Linked DNA regions of Homo sapiens: region 2 is linked to region 1. The links are contacts of gene promoters, found by promoter capture Hi-C in human tissues and cell types (Jung and others, 2019). All regions are on one chromosome and are shown on one strand. Each heading gives the region's core, a stretch centred on a gene start or on the middle of the fragment in contact. The rest is flanking DNA. Distances are from core to core; before and after follow the strand shown. Region 1 holds the start of SIX3 (SIX homeobox 3). Region 2 overlaps CAMKMT (calmodulin-lysine N-methyltransferase).

Region 1 (7,966 bases), core at 1,478-3,977:
CCGAGCCCGGCCGCTTGGGGAGGCCTGGGTGCAAGCGACAAAGTACGCCAAGCCCTGGAGAAGCAGAAGTCGGAGAGGAGCCGGGCGCTTCTTCCCTCCGCAGTCCCTGGGGCTCTTCAAACTGAGCCGGCTGCCCCGCGACCGGTCGAGTTCCCCTAGTAACCCCGTCCCTGCTCCCTCAAACACACACCGGGAGCTGCGGGTTCCCCACCGCCCGGCCAGTCTCCGGGTAGAACTGCATACTTTGCTCTCTGGATGCCAGCGCAGAGCGCAGGACCGAGGGTAGAGAAAATAGGAAAGCTGGCGGTGGAAAAGTGGGGAAAGAGCAGGGAGACAGAAAAGGGGCAAAGGAGAAGGCAAGAGAGGCGCACAGAGCAGTCTCCAGCTGCCCTTTCCCCCACCGGGAACCTTCTGCCTGGACCTGGTGTCTGGAATTCTCTCCACAAGGAGGCCTTGGCTTGACCCTGGGCGCTCCCCTCATCAGACGAAAAGTGGGCTCCACGGCAGGGGTGAGAGGGCCATGGGCTCAGGTCCCGGCCGCCTAAACTCGAACACACCTCCAGAAACTCACACCCAGCCCCCACCCACGGGCAGCTGTCAGCAGCTGGGGGTCCTGCTCCCTGAAGTACACCAGGCCCTGGGCCTTCCTGGCTGGATAGAGAAAGACACAGGCTCCACATCAGGGCTTTCACCCAACTTCCTCTTTTCTTTCTCCCTTCTCTCCCCACTCCTTTCGCCTATCCACTTCTTTCCCTCTGGTTCTTTTTCTCCTTCCCCCAGGCCCAGCTCCTGTGATGTTGGTCAAGCCCTATACAATTTTGTGACTTTGTGGCCAACTTGCCGGCAACGAGGCTGCTCGTGCCCGCTTCCCAGCTTAGAGGACCAAAGGGATTCTCCTCGGCTGAAACAGGAGGGCGAGTACATGCACACGGGCGTGCACACACACACGCACACGCACACGCTAGGCCTCTCCACTCCCAGCCCGGCTCTCCTGCTCCCGGTCAGGCAACGTGCAGCGTTGCGGGGAAACAGGCCCGCTGCGCAGTGGCCTCTGGCCTTTTCCCCTTGTGATAGGGACCCAGGTTCACTTTCCTCTCTCTGACGCTAGTGGATTTCTCTCGGGGTTTTGCAACGCACAGAAATAAGAACCAGATGGCAAAGAGTGCTTTCCTTCCCTCCCTGTCTCTAGGCTCCAGAGGATCGCCGAGCTGGCGGCAGGGCTGAGGAGGCAGGCACGGGTGCAGCGCAGGGCTAAGTCTCCCAGGGGCTGCGGGTACTCGGGTCGCAAGCACACACTCTCTGCCCTGACGAAAGCCCCTCTTGGTCAAAGCAATCAATACACCCACAGCCAGCCCGGCCCCCTCTTCCGCGCGTCCCGGACAAGCGGAAACTTTCTCCGACTGGCCAGGAGTCACGGCTTCCCTGGCTCTCAGCGGCCGCTCCGCTAGCCCCATCTCAACCCCTCTCCCCTTCCCAGGCCTCTGAGGCTGTAGCCAGGCCGCGGGCCCCGCCACTAACCTGTTCTTGGCCGCCGCGGCGCGGTCGCGCTGCCGCCGGTTCTTAAACCAGTTGCCTACTTGTGTGGGAGTGAGGCCGGTGGCCTGCGCCAGTTCGCGTTTCTTGCTGGGGTTGGGGTAGGGGTCCTGTAGGTACCACTCCCGCAACAGGCTCCGAGTCCGCTCCTTGAAGCAATGCGTCTTCTGCTCGCCGTCCCAGATGGTGCGTGGCAGCGGGAACTTCTTGCGCACGCGGTACTTGTCCACCGGGCCGAGTGGGCGGCCGCGCAGCTTCTCGGCCTCCTGGTAGTGCGCCTCGAGCCACATGGCCTGCAGCTTGCCGTGAGACTCCTTGGTGAACTTGTGGTTCTCAAGGATGTGGTAGAGGTCGCGGAAGTTGCCCGTGTGGAAGGCGACCACGGCGCGCGCGCGCAGGATCGACTCGTGTTTGTTGATGGCCTCGCACGCCCCGGGGGCCACGGGCAGCGACCAGAGGAAGCGGCCCAGCCGCTCGATGTCGCCCGTCTCCTCCAGCGTCTCACAGACGCTGGCCACCTGCTCCGGCGAGAAGTTGAGGGTGGGCAGCTGGAACATGGACAACTCTTCCGGGGGGGCCCTGGAGCCGCCGCCGCCGCCGCCGCCTGCTCCGCCAGCACCGCCGCCTCCCGCACCGTTCCCGCCGCCGCTGCCGCCTCCCGCGCCGCCGCCGCCTCCCGCACCGTTCCCGCCGCCGCTACTCGCCAGAAGTATGGAGCGGTGGTGAGAATCGGCGAAGTTTGGCAACAAGAAGTGGGAGGAATAGAGGTCTAGGGGGGAGCGGAATACCATGGACTGACCTGAGAGGAGAGGAGAAAATTCAGGGAGAGGAAGAGAGAGGGGAGGAAGAGGAGGAGAGGGGCGATGAGGACCAGGAGGAGGGAGAGGAGAGGGGGGAGGAGGAGAAGGAAAGGAGGGGGGAGCAGGAGGAGGAGGGAGAGGAGGAAGGGCGTAAGGGACACCCACACCCCACACACATCCACACACACACACACCCGCGCAGCCACATAGAGAGGGAGGTAGGAGAGCGGCCCGGTGCGCGCGCGCAGAGAGAGAACCCGAGACAGAGAGGGAGAGGGAGAGGGAGAGAGGAGAGGGAGAGCCAACCACCGCCGAGTCAAGATTCAGCGATTCCACCGCAATCGCCCTAATGACAACAGCCTCATAATATCTCCCCTAAATCCACAGTGAGTGCAGCATTGAAACATTTTGTTTCGCTTTTCTATTGGTCTGTGGCGTGTCGTTGTGGCGTTGCCACGGCAACCACTGCCAATCACTGTCAGCCCTGCCAATCAATACCGAGAACGTAAGGACGGTTTTACCACTTAGCCAGAGGGCGGGGGGAGGGGGAGAGCAGGGAAGGAGGGAGAAGTGGGGGGATAAAGAGAATTTTTTTTATCTTTGCAACTCTTAATCTCGCTACCTCCCCCTCCTCTCTTCTCTCTTCTCCCTCTCTCTCCTCTTTTCTCTACCGCTGTCTCTGAGACTTCTTCTTCCCTTTTTCCTAAAGAAGTTGATCCAGAAATTCGAAAAGCCCTGGGCAGAGTTGTTGAATGGGATGTGCAATTAGAGAGGGGATTTTGTTGGGAGGCAAGAGGGTCCCCCAGGCTCCACATAGTCCAGGTCGGCAGGCAAGGAAAGACGGCTGACCAGCCCAGCGGGCGCGGTTTGCACATGGTTTGCACGTCGGGCCGCCTCTTTCTGCCTATGTGAGCACTAATAGTGGCAAGGAAGAAAGGAGAGATGAGATCATGGGGCCCACCAAGCACCGACCTTGGCCCAGCGGGCCGTGGCGCCAGCCGGGGATCCCGGATTCCGAGGGTATCTGGCGCCAGGGAGCCTGAGCCCAATTCCCAGGGTGCTGGAGGCCGCTCTTGCCTCCCCCATCGGTGCCCATGGACCGCATTCACCTCAACTCCCTCTTCATCAATTAGGCTTCTCTTTACTCCCTCCCCGGCCAAGGAGCCTCGATTTCCCCCACCACCCTGTATTTTAAAATAACAGTCCAAACAGTACACTTCTTTCCATCTTAAGAAGCAACTCAACTCTTTGTTTCTTCCCAGAATTCAGCTGCCTCTCTGAGGAGTGGTGGAGGAGCTGCGGGAGCCGAGAAGCCCAAGAGCCCTCTGGACCCAGAAAAGTCCTACAGATGCCCACTCCTCACCACACAACAGAAGGAGCTCTGGTCCTGCCTGCCAGCCCCAGAGGGCACTCAAACTTTGGAGGCCAGCCACCCGGATGAAGTGAATAAGGCCTGAAAATTGCTTGTTTGCTCGTATTGTAAAATAATAATAATTACCATTATTATTTTTAAACTGTCTAATTTCTCTAGGGAAAGTAACATCGAAAGCCTAAAACAGACGCCAAAAGGCCCATAGAACACAGAGGGCCCTCTCTGCCTCTGGCCACCACAGCCCCTAGGCCAGGCATGGGTATTTATTCTTAGGTATGTTGCTTTTAAGAAGCTGTAATCAGCATCTTGAGCCGGGCCTCCCTTTGTGAGGCTTCTGTAACTATGGAAGTGTGATTTACGCAGATTTGTCGGGGTCAGAGACGTCTTTCCCTGAGCACTGTGTATATTTAGACAGGACTCGGTTTGGTGTTAAAAAGTGTATATGTTGAATGGATTCACACACAGTAGCCAACAATGACCACATTGTCGGCCCGTGTACAACGCGTATTGAAACGCAGCGCCCAGACTTCAACTAATCTGCCCTCAATAAAGCTGAAATAATTATCCTAAGCTGCCTTTCCAGAAGAAAAATCATTGAGGAATTCAAAACTTTTTTTTTTTTTTTTTAAAGATCTTTTCTGCATTCCGATGCAGATCTGGGGGCAAGGCGCCGTGTCCACACCACTTTGGTGATCTCAATGAGGGAAGAGAGAAAGAGAGGTTGAGAGAGAATTTAAATGGGAAACCTAACGTGACTGGGGCTGTGAGTGTCCCAGCCCCTAAACCCCGAGCTGGAGCCCTGCTTAGGCCTTGACTCCCGCAGTGCCAGGCCTCTGAGGGCCGGGGAGAAGAGCAAGCCGACAAGTGCAAGCCTCCTTGGAGGATTCCGGGCGGCAGGGAGGCCCTGGGTCCGGCGAGGGGCCAATACTGGCTCACTTAGCCAGAGACAGCCGTGGGGTAGCAGGTCTTCAACACGACGACTGGGGCAGAAAAATATTCCTCCAAAGGGAAGACCTGCCAAGCCCCATTTCAGTGCTCTCTCCACTCCATATATATTTCCTCTCCTCCTGGCCATGAGTCCTTCTCCACGCAGCTGAAAGCTCTGGGCGGTCATTCACTGAGGGCCCAGAAAGAGCCCAAAGGTTGGGACACAAAAACAGACACTTCATGTTTTCTTCCCGATCCCTTTCTCTCGTAGGGGAAGGATTATAGGCTGAAGGGTGGGAGGGGGAAGGGGCAGGAGGAGGAAGCGGGGGAGGAAGGAATGAAAAAGGGGAGGGGAGTGGGTATTGTGCCGCGTGTGGGGGGAGAATTCCTACGGGTGGGTTTCCGAATATTGTGTTCAACTTTTTGAAAGCAGCTCGTGACCCCGAAACTGCATCCCCCGGAGCCGGGGACCCAGGCGCCGGGCGGGCGGGTGAACCCGGTCAGTCCCCTCCCCGTCCCCGAAACCCCCGCCTCCGGGTGGTGGCGACCTGGCCTCTCCCTGCCACTGCCCGGCCAGCCCCGGAGGGAGGCTGGGCAGGTGCTGCGGGCTCTGCCGAAAGCGCTGAAATAAAAAACCATCGCCACTCAGGGAGAACTGAGGCAAGTGGGGCTGAGACTCTGGCGACACCCCCGCCCCCCAGCCTCTGCCCCAGCGCCTGCCGCCCTGCCGCCCTGCCGCACCCCGCCTGCTTGGGTGGCGACCGCGGTTCCGGAACGCGAAGCAGGGCAGAGGGCTGCAGAGAGGCGTGTAGCTTTGTGCGCCAGGACCCGGTGGGGCAGGTGGCAGCCCCGGGCTGTCCGCGCCTCCCAGCAGAGCCGAGCTCGGCGCCGCCCACCGAGCCCACCTCGCGGTCCAGCCGCCGCCAGCGCCTTTCGGCTCTGGCCTGAAGCAGTACTCCCGCCTCCTGGAGCGGGTAAGTTGAGAGTCCGGAGAGCAGGGCAGGGAGGCGGGGCGGCTGGTCCCAGAGCGGAGGGCCGGACTGGCTCCCCGCCGGGCTGGGGGCGCAGGCTCCATAGGATCTCAGTCGAGGGGTTCTGAGTGCGTGTTTGGGTGGGAAGCAGGGCTGTGGAGCGCCAGAGCTTCCCCTCCCAAATTCCCAGGCGCTGGGCACTGGGGAGTGGAGCAGAAGCAGAGGGACCTTGGGTTCCGGGGCCCAGCGGCCTTCCACGCTGGTCTGGGAACCAAGCAAGCCCTAGGGCAGTGCGAGGACTGGGAAGGGACCCTGGGGGACCGCTAGAGGAGGTGGCGCGTGGAGGGCGCCTGCACCCTGGGGTCGCTCAGAGCGGAGAGTCTCGGGTGGATAGGTCAGCTTGCAGATCCTCTAGGTCTCTTCTCTGCTCTCTGGCCGCTCTGATTGCGGGATCTGGGACTTGGCGCCCGTACAGGCCGGGTCACCTGTGCAGAACAAATTTGCTGCCATCATCCCCGCTTCAATCCTGGCCCCGGCGATCTAAAATATCGCCTTCAGGTGGGGCAGGGAGAAAAGATGTCTTTGGGGTTTAAATAGTGTTCTCCTTGTACCCGGACCAACTGGCATTTATTTACAAATGTCACCCGCCACCCCAGCACTGGGAAAGTCTCAACCACATCTGGAGAACGCCCGAGAGACCTCCCACTCTCTCCTTGTTTTGGGTTACAGGGAAAGCCAACGGGTCTGCAGGCCTCCGGGAGACGAGGATCCGGAGGGTTGGGGCAGCTGCACCCACTTGGCCTTGCTCAGCTCTAAACAGCCGACCAGGAGGCCGGGGGAAGGTTTGCCCTGTGGGGGCAACGCCCCTTCCGGCTCCCAGGATGTCGGGAGGCGGAGGCTGGCCGGGTGGCCCGTAGTCTGGGCCTCCCCGCAAGCTGCAAACTGAGGCGCTTGGCGCGGGCGGCCAGGGAGGGCGCAGGGGAGCGCAGCACGCAGGCGGGGAGGCCGCGAAGCCCTTCAAGGACCCCGATTACTTTCCTTTGAAAAACAACAACAACAACTGCTCCCTCCCCGCACCCCCGCCCCCCGCCTTAGCCTCCGGGGACTGGCGCTCCAAGCAATTGTCGCCCCGGACAGTAAACACAGCTCAGTTGCCTCAACTTTCTCCATGCATAAAAGTTCCTGGCGTGCGGGGAAATTTGAATATTTGATCAGCCCCTTTGAGTGACCCTCATTAGTCCGGCGCCCTGCTAAGGCCGGGCATTGCAAGAAAGCTGCTGGGCTCGGCATTTGTACGCCTTGTTAGCGCAGCTTAATGAAGCCGCCCCGACGGCTCAAAGGCGGCCTCAGGGGCCGGCGACGCGCACCTCTCGGCACCCTGCTCTGCCTAATGAGCCCCGCCGCCCTCTAAAGGACCCTCCACCCCCCACATTCTGAAACAGGGGAAGTTTGGCTCTGTCTTGAACCACGGCACCTCCCACTGCCAGGCCCAGGAGGGTGGGCACAAACCCAGCCTAGCTGCCTGCAGTTACCCATTCCCAAGAGAGAGGGGCTGGAGAGTTGGGAGGTGTGAGCCATACTGGTTGGGGGCAGTGCAGGGAGGGGAGCGGGTGGCAGGAGAGGCTTTTGCTGTCTCAGGATCCAGCCCAGGGAGTGCACTGCCAGCCTCTCCCAAGTGGACCAATTGCAAATCAATTAGTCACTCCAGTTCCTTAAAGGTGCATCTGGACTAATGCTGGGGTGGCTGAGGGTCAGCCTTCCATCCTCCTATCACCTTAGGTTCCCTTGGCTTCCACTGCCCAGAGGCCACACACTTCTTCCCAAGGTTCCCCTTCTGAACAGCCAGACCTGGTGTGCCAGGACTTGGATTTGAGAAAGGGTGGGCAGCTCCCCTCCCTAACCCATCATTGCCTCCACCATTCACAGAGCCCAGTCACATGTTATGACAAGTGGCAGTAGGGAAGGCAGGGGACCACAGCCCGTCCTGCACTCCCCCTCAACAGAGGTATCCCTTCTTTGGCTTCTAGTCCCAGGGAGGCCTGGCAAAAAAAGTGCTATAGGCAAGACCACCCTGCAAGACTGGCCTGGCAGCCTGGCAGAGAGGCAGAGAGCCAGAGCCCTGGAAGGAAGGGAAACCAAAGCAGTCATCTACTTCACCTTTTCTTAGTGGGGCAGCTGACATGGCTGGCCAGTAAATATAAGACACCCTCTTAAAAATTGTGCTTCAGTCCTCAGGAAGTGTAGCCTTCCTTCCCTTTCTGTCTCCCCTCTCCTCTGATGCCCTTTTCCCTGGACAGTCGGAGCTCAAGGTCCTTCACTCCCTCCTTGCATACACAGCTCTTGGGCCCTTAAGGGTTACTTTT
Region 2 (7,966 bases), core at 2,606-5,105, 170 kb after region 1:
TATCTTTAGGACACTACTTAGCCTAAAAGAAAGACAAATAAGAGTATTAAGACAGGGACTTAGACATTGAAAGCTTTTACCATCTCCAAAACATCTGAGTCAAGCAGAAGAAAACGGGGTGGGAGGATGAGGGGTGGCCTCAAAGTCAGAACAAGCAACAAGAAGTAAATAAAGTTCTTGCTAAGTGAGTCTGAAATATGTATTTAGCCCTTGTAAATTAAATAACACTGGTTTTTAAAGAGTGATTCTCCGAACATCTATTATTCACATCAGTAGGACAGACGGTAAGCCACTGTAAGATTTATAGAAACTAAAAGACTTCCCATGCTAAAGGTTAATGAAAGTGTAATTTGAATCATGAAATCTTTATGTGTCGGCTCAATTTACACCGAGGGCTCATTAAGGATGCGTTTGGTACAGCGGGCGGCAGGTGACGTCACATTAGTATTTAAATGGGCGGGGCCAGGCTGCTCTGCATGTAATCCTTTAAAAATATAACAGCCTCTCTCTTTCCTTCTCTGTCTCTCCAGCTGTAACAACTTCACCAACTGTCTGGGTTCCACCCCGAGGATTTCACTGAGAGAACACGTTAGAGGGAATCAGGAAGCAGAAAAAAGGTCACAAATAAGCACCTCAGGAACAATGAAAGCTTTTCTCTATGCAGCAGTGGGAGAGTTGCTAGAAAAACTGGAAAGGTATTAATCAGAAGTGGCTATAAATGCTCTGGAGTTTTGCTCTTATAAAACTCCTCAGAGAAAGTCTTGAAGGAAATGCAGGTCAAAGCCCAAAAAAGCTCTTGATCAGAGATTGCTGGAGGAAAATCTTCCCAGACGCCGTTTAATAGGCAGCAATCACCCCAGGAGTGGGGAAGCCAAGTACGCTTGAAACATGGTTGCAATTCCTAATAGGTCTTGTCACACTTAAGGCACTGCAAGCTCCATCCAACGAACAGCTGAAGCTAGCTGGCGATTCATAAAGCCAACAGTTTAAAGTTTATTATGATGAAAGCACTTAATGACAGCCATCGCTAGGGGCCCATCATTTATAAAGCTGTGCTGAGTATTAGACATGTAGCATGACCACCAATTTTATGTCACAATTGCTACCATAAAATGACCTTTGGTGATTTTTGCTGCATGTGGTGGACAGCTCTTCCTTCACATTAGTGCTCTGTGGCTTTCTTTGCAGACTATTATGCTGTCTAAAGCTTATTTGGCACTGTCGTGAGCCTCAACCCTTGCTATTACCCCGAAGGCCTGTCTTAAAAAAAAAAATCTCATGCTCTATTACGCCACTCCAATAATTTACAGTTCTTACCAGCCTTGGTTAGCGTAATATTTTAATGCAAATATGCTTTACCATTGGATTTTATTTTAAGCACACACACACACACACACACACACACACACAATTTCCCATGCTTCTGGCTAGCAAAATATCCATTTTATGGGAGTTCACTGAAATCGGCCTCTTATTCTCTGGTCAGGTCTCACTGATTGAGCACTGTTTCCTCTGGGTCAGTTAAAACATCACCAGAAAAAAAAAAAAAAAAAAAGGGTTACTTAAACTTCTGTTGAGATTTTTTTTTTTAAGATCCTATACATGATAAACCCACTTAAGGCAGAAACACCAATTCTTATTTCCCTGCATCCAGTCGCAATGCAAATTGACATTTGAGTAACATTATTTAATTAGGCTTCCATTTTTCCACCTTCTTTGTGTAGTTAGGAAATGTTTGAATACATGCCAGTTTACTGCTCCAATGTAAACTGCTGCTAAGAAAGTGGTCTGTCCACGCTACACCACCTTTAAATTGTGTATATAATTTTATAAATGATATAAAATCTGCTTCTAGCCCTGAGGAAAAAACAAACCATAAGCATGGCACACTGCAATTTTGGAAGGATTTAAAATATGTGATTTCTGCTGGTACCTACTGTATTGGGTTTTATATAAAGCTTTTTTCAATAAGGTAAATTGTTACATGACAAACTCATCTTCCACCATTATCATCTGCTGTTTGTGTTTAACAACAGGAGTCCCGCTCTAACAAAACTGTTGTAATGGCTGTACAAATTACTCAGCTGAAAGCTTTTCACCAAACAAAACAGTATTAATCAGCAGTTCTTATGAAGGTGCTAATTAAAAACAATTTTCTTCCTCAGTTTGCAATACTAAAGCCATCTTCACTTGCACAGTTTCCAATATACAGCTACTGTATTTGCTCACACTTCAGGCCCTCTATTAACTATTGAATCTCCTATTAGCCATTTTATTACATTTCTGTTTACAAGCTTGTTGACATTTTAAAAGTCACGGTATGATCTGTTTTATCTGTTAAAAAATGTATTAATTGAAAAGTCAGGGGGACAAAAAAAGCAAAATACAGACTCCAAATGCACAGACTTCCAGGGCAGAGAACACTGTGAGCATTTAGCCACAGCCTGGAAGGTAAGCTCTCTGGGTAAAATGAAATGTGAGAATTAAAAGTGGCATTTCAGGCTTAATGGTTTGATAAACACTAACAGGATCCTTCCTAATTTGGAAGTAGTCCACTCAGGAAAACATATTTACCCTGCCTAAAATCAGCCTGACTTTCAAATCCATTTTTTCTTTATGGTATACAATCAACATAATTATGATGTTTCATACAGCCTGAACTCAGGGGATTTTGATCTAGGGTGGGGATGTACCTGGAATCTGGCGGCTGGAGCCCAGATCTCGGGTCTAAATAGCTTAATCTTTCCTGTGAGTGTGTGTGTGTATATGCTTGTACATATACTTTGACTCTCTCCCCTATGTGGGCATTCTGCCCCACCCCCAGAGTCCAGTGAGAGGTTCTTGCCAGACAATGCTAATGAATTGTCTGGCATAGATTGGAAACAAGTCAAATGCTGACTAAGCACAAAGAAAATCCATGGAAGCTAGGTTCCTATTAAAAAACAAAAACCACCTAACCCTCATGAGCAGGTTGCCCCACTTTGGTAGCAGAGAGATGGAAAAAAACACCACTACCTCCTGCCTCTGGTATTAAAACCAGGTTCTTCAGCTGTCAAAAGCAGTTAACTAGTTTAGGACAGACACCTGGCTGTTGAAATAGGGCTCCAGAGGGCAACTAATCCTTCCATTCACTCAGTTAACTGCTGGATCCCCCAAATTGATTCAACAGGTATGCAGTGGTAAATTCAGCCCATACTGAAGCCAAAGGGAAAATCAGCAAGGGGCGGGCAGCTCTTCTCTGAAAACACCCGAGGAACTAGCCAGAAAAGCTTTTATGGCCCTGACAAGTTTTCTGCTGAATACTGAGCACCTAAATTACCCTTCCCTAATGGAAGTTACATTTTCATGCTCAGTCAAAAAGCCAACAAAATACACAATTTATACAAAATAGCATCAACCTCTTAGGTAGTCTTTTCTAGCACTTTTATCCCAATTCATGGCATATGTCTTGCTATAAAGTAAAATATATTTCTTATAACCAACTTGTATGTAGCTATTCATCTCACAGCATTAGAACTGACCACGGGCAATATTAGAAACATTCTTTCATCCAACCAAATCTACTTAGTATGACAAAGGAAAATCATGAGTTTTATCAGAAGATAAAGGTACACAAAGAAAAGAAATATTATTCTTAGGATTTCCTAAGCAGACAGGCTTCCTTTCTGAAACAAACACATGCATAATTACATAGGCAATTATGGAATGGGCCATTTCAATTGCAATTGACTCATAGAAATAATCATAAAGTTCAAAAGAAATGTAAATGGACAAACTTTCAAAGCTGCTCTATTTCACTTTTCAGTATCGGCATTCCATTAAACTTCGGGAAAATAAAAACTAAAATTATTCAATAATATAGAACATTTCTTACAAACTTTCAAAGAACCTGGACTACAGAGATTTCCAGGTGAGGATCCCATGAAGAGCAGATCTAGGAAACCCTTAACATTGTATAGGAGATTCTCTAGGTTTTAATTACATAATAAGTGAATTTCCTTACTACGTATCTCTTGGTAGCAACAGTTCAATTCTGAAACACTGTTCTCAGATATTTAAAAAAATACATTCCTAGTTTACTTTTTAAAATATAGTATCTCCCAGAGACATAAACACTGGATTTCTCCACCCACAACACACAAATACAAATTGAATTCTTGCCAATTCACGTATTTTCTTGAGAGAAAAAAGAAAATATTCTCATAGTCCTGCTGTTCCATATTTAAAAAGAAAAAAGAATAGACCATCTTAGGTGCTACTACAGGGATGCGTTTTCTTTGTCTGGCAGAGTTAGTTGCAGGTTTTACACAGGAAATAATTTTGCTGTATTTTCACCAGTATAAATGGAATGGCTTGTGTTGCCTTTTAAAACATGCCAAATTCTAATTTTTAAACAAGAAAATATGAAGCCAGTGTGCAACCTATACAGTCACCAAAGGAGAGCTGCCACTAGCTGAACTACTCAGCTAAATGGCTGGTTTGCATTGCCCTGGTCTTTATCTAGCACTGAGAATAGACTGCTGTTTTATCCAAAGAGGAATAAATTGCTGTTATTGTGATGTTAGCCCATCACTTGGCATTGCAATTCAAGTTTTTGTGAGAAAGAAATGTATGATCTAACTGCGACTTGACCTATGCCTTCTGAGATCCATCTAGGTGCTCTAATGGAGCAGAAAAAGTGGTGAATACAAGGACATGCAAACTGATGGTGAAAAATTTGTTTGATGATAGAAGTGAGCAGAGAAGACATTTGAGAGTCGCTGCTTTTATGACAGCTAAGTTTGTTTAACATGCAAAAGGATGCACCCCCAGTCTCTCACCTATCACTTTAATTGTATCACACTGAATACATGTTTTTGCCTGTACTAAAGACATGAGGATATATAGCTAACCTACTAATGACATTACTGCTAAAGTGGGCACAGATGATTCCTTACAGATAAACATCTGAATTTCCACAAAAGGCATTAGAGCATCTCATGGATGCACTAGGCAAGGATAAGCTTGGGTTCCCTGCAGAAAAGTCATTCTCTCTTAATCCTAGGTAGCACCTATTAAATGTTTACCATACACTTGAATCACAGCATATAACAATATATACTTATTTTAAATAAGATAATTGTGTGATTGAGTTTTTAAAAAACTCCCCCTGGTTGCAATCTGGTTTATCAACCATTTACTCAAAATTTCTCTGGGAAGGACCTATTTTGAAAGAGGCCTGGAGAACAGCAGCAGTTAGATTTAAGCCCTGATAAAGGCTCACTTTTCATTCATAGTCAGAGCCTAAATGTGCTCTTCTTGTACCTAAACAGATAATAAGCACTCAGCACACTCCCCCTCCTTGACACAGCACACTGAGACTAATCACACATAATTGGGGAGGAGGAGCAGAGGGCTGGCCACGCTATTGTGTCCAGAGGACAAACGGTCAGTTTATGAGGCTTTGGGCTGATGTAGTCATTTCTTATACATCTATAGGAAAAAAAACATACTGTTTAAAAGGAAAAAAAGAAGGAGAGAGAGGGACAGAGAAAGGGATGGCGGATTTAATACAATTAATTGGAGGGAGATAAAAAGATACACTTTATTTATTTTTCTAACCAGGAAAGAATCATGATATTTGCTGGGTTTACTGATTAAAAACTACCACCACCAAAACAGAACAAAGACCAAAAAAAAAAAAAAAATGAAGGAGGGATGGGTATCATCAAAAGAAATTCTGTCTCAATTACAGGGAAAAATATTTAGTTTGTTCACCAGTCAAATTCAAGTCACAGACAGGCAGCTTATACACATTTAAAGACAAACAAAGGTTTAGGGCAGGACGAGCAACAAGCAGAGTGTAAAAAGAGGCGGGGAGGGAGCTGGAGAGGGCAGCTGGGGAATAACGTGGGTGAGGACAGGTGGAGTCCATAGCCCACACGTGAAATGCTGCAAAGGGCGCAGGCAGGCGATTATACCCCTTACAGATTTCCGTTTTTGTAAAAATATTCCCTATGCACTTGATACGTTTCTTCGTCTTTGAGAAGCTTAATCTTCTATCCATGTTTGGTCAAAATAAGCAGAAGCGGGTAATGAAGGTTTTCTTCATATATGTCCGGGTTTTCCTTTTTCAACTGAAAACAATAATAGAAAGAAAAAGGTAAGGGGACTCCAATTAGGGATCTTTACCAGTCAATATTAATGTTGAGTATCATGATGACTTTTACACCAAAATATATAGTTCTGGAAAAATAAATCACAGAAAAGCAACTCAAAGTAGTTCTCAGTGGCACTAATGTGACAATTCTATACATTAACATGGGGATTGTTTTTGGTGGGGGTGGGTAGGGTTTTTTTCATAAATACCCAAACTGCACTTTGACCTCTATAAACTGTGAGGCACTTGACAGAAGGCAGAGCTGGGGCTCATTCATCATCACCTGACTGGGCATTTGACATAGAAGTTTCTGCTCTCTGTACCCTCTGCCTCTGACCAATGCCACACTATTCAGGCAGGCGGGCATTTCAGATCACTGCTTGGAGTCCGTGGCAACATCTGGGCACAGGGAAAGGCTTGTGGGGCCCAAGACACTGCAAAGGCTCTCCAGGTGCTTCTTAGGGGTTTTAACATTAATAATAAGTCACTCAAAAATTCTTTTCTCTGAGGAGGAGAACATACTCCAACAATTAGACTAGCAACATTCCTGTTCATACTGTGCAGGGAAGTTCTGAGGATATTTCTGTGATAAGATTTTAAAATCCAGTTAGGTTTCTCACATATGAAGTACACTTTTTCTTCATTCAGCTGGAATAGTTTTAAAGTTATATTTATATTTATTCTAGCAAATAAAAATTTGCTATTTATAAAGACAAAATTAATATTTTTGAAGTTGGAATTTATGAGCCAATTGTTAATTTCTTTTTAGATTATAAGAATAAAAAAATAAATATTTCTTTAAATTATACAGGGAGTCAATTCCTTTATTGTTTAAATTAGTCAAACACCACCCACTCCACCCACCCTAAAGCAAAATGAATGGCCTCAACATCACACTCTCCCAGGTTGGTCCCTCTGGGGCATGTTAACTTGAATCTTTTCGAAGTGCATGTTCCTTCTAAATCATATTCCCAAACCATGACATGGACATGCTGTCACTATTAAGGACAGGAGTCATGAGCCCACTTCCCCTTTTCCGCTGGGGAACATAAAGCTAATTCAGCCTTTAATTTCTAATCCACTTTCCAATCTACTTTCCCAAGAACTGATGGTGGTACAGTCACTGAGGTGACTTCATTCTGTTTTCTTAGACAGAGTTTGTTCTGTGTACAGATGATTTGTTGTCTATTTAGGAAGATCCTTGTGGATTTTTGCTGCTACCAAAGTAGCGAGAGTGTTAAGCCTAAACACAGGTCCTCCAACCTTACTATTTAGTCTAATTTTAGAAAATGCTGAGAAAATGGCTTCACCAACTTCCCAGTCCATACCCACTGACCGGGACTTACCACTGTAAATACTTTTGTTGCCAGTTGCCCTAGTGATAGAGGGAGCTCACTGAAGTATTTTACAGAGGGAAGAGAGGACCAAGCTAGCTCAATTCTTTCCTTGGGGATTGGGGATAAGGGAAAGTTGATTACTCAGTGGCAGTCAGCTGACCTACTCACTCACAATGCACTAATATACAGAGACTCAAATGAGCTCTTTATAAAGTCCCTGAGGTAATATGTGGGATAAATAATTCTTCTGTAAATATGGGTTAGAAATCACTTTTAACTTGGATTCTATGCTGACCTCTGGAGGCCAAAGTGGAGGCTTCGTTGCTGAAAGGGGCCAGGGGCCAGCCCCGTCTTGCCTGTGAGACCTTTCCACAATGGGGAAGAGCTGACAACCCTCAAAGGCAACACTATAACCCAGCCCTGGATCATTTCTGAATCAAGCAAGTCTGTTATGTGAGGGTACTTGAACACACACAAAGCTCTTAGCCAA

What was found. Contacts are between HindIII fragments. The study calls those that stand out against the background at their distance.
Region 2: a fragment that was not itself captured here is called in contact with the fragment with the promoter of SIX3 in region 1 in 1 of the 25 tissues and cell types used here (H1 embryonic stem cells).

What each region holds. Positions count from the first base shown.
Region 1 is chr2:44,936,463-44,944,428 of GRCh38, reverse strand. It overlaps SIX3 (SIX homeobox 3), which reads right to left and starts at 2,727. Exons shown (of 2, transcript NM_005413.4): 1 at 1,519-2,727. The coding sequence starts at 2,324. SIX3-AS1 (SIX3 antisense RNA 1) reads left to right here and starts at 2,551. Exons shown (of 2, transcript NR_103786.1): 1 at 2,551-2,719; 2 at 3,596-4,275. LINC01833 (long intergenic non-protein coding RNA 1833) reads left to right here and starts at 5,230. Exons shown (of 2, transcript NR_147195.1): 1 at 5,230-5,606. RefSeq lists enhancers at 960-1,684, 2,767-3,293, 4,062-4,561, 4,562-5,063, 6,482-7,014 and 1 more and silencers at 5,405-5,534, 6,529-6,608. The HindIII fragment of the contact is 28,963 bases long and covers 1-7,966 here.
Region 2 is chr2:44,770,186-44,778,151 of GRCh38, reverse strand. It overlaps CAMKMT (calmodulin-lysine N-methyltransferase), which reads right to left. Exons shown (of 11, transcript NM_024766.5): 11 at 5,560-6,116. The coding sequence ends at 6,039. Among named protein-coding and RNA genes, the nearest start is that of LINC01833, 170 kb to the left of the region's middle. The HindIII fragment of the contact is 3,323 bases long and covers 2,194-5,516 here.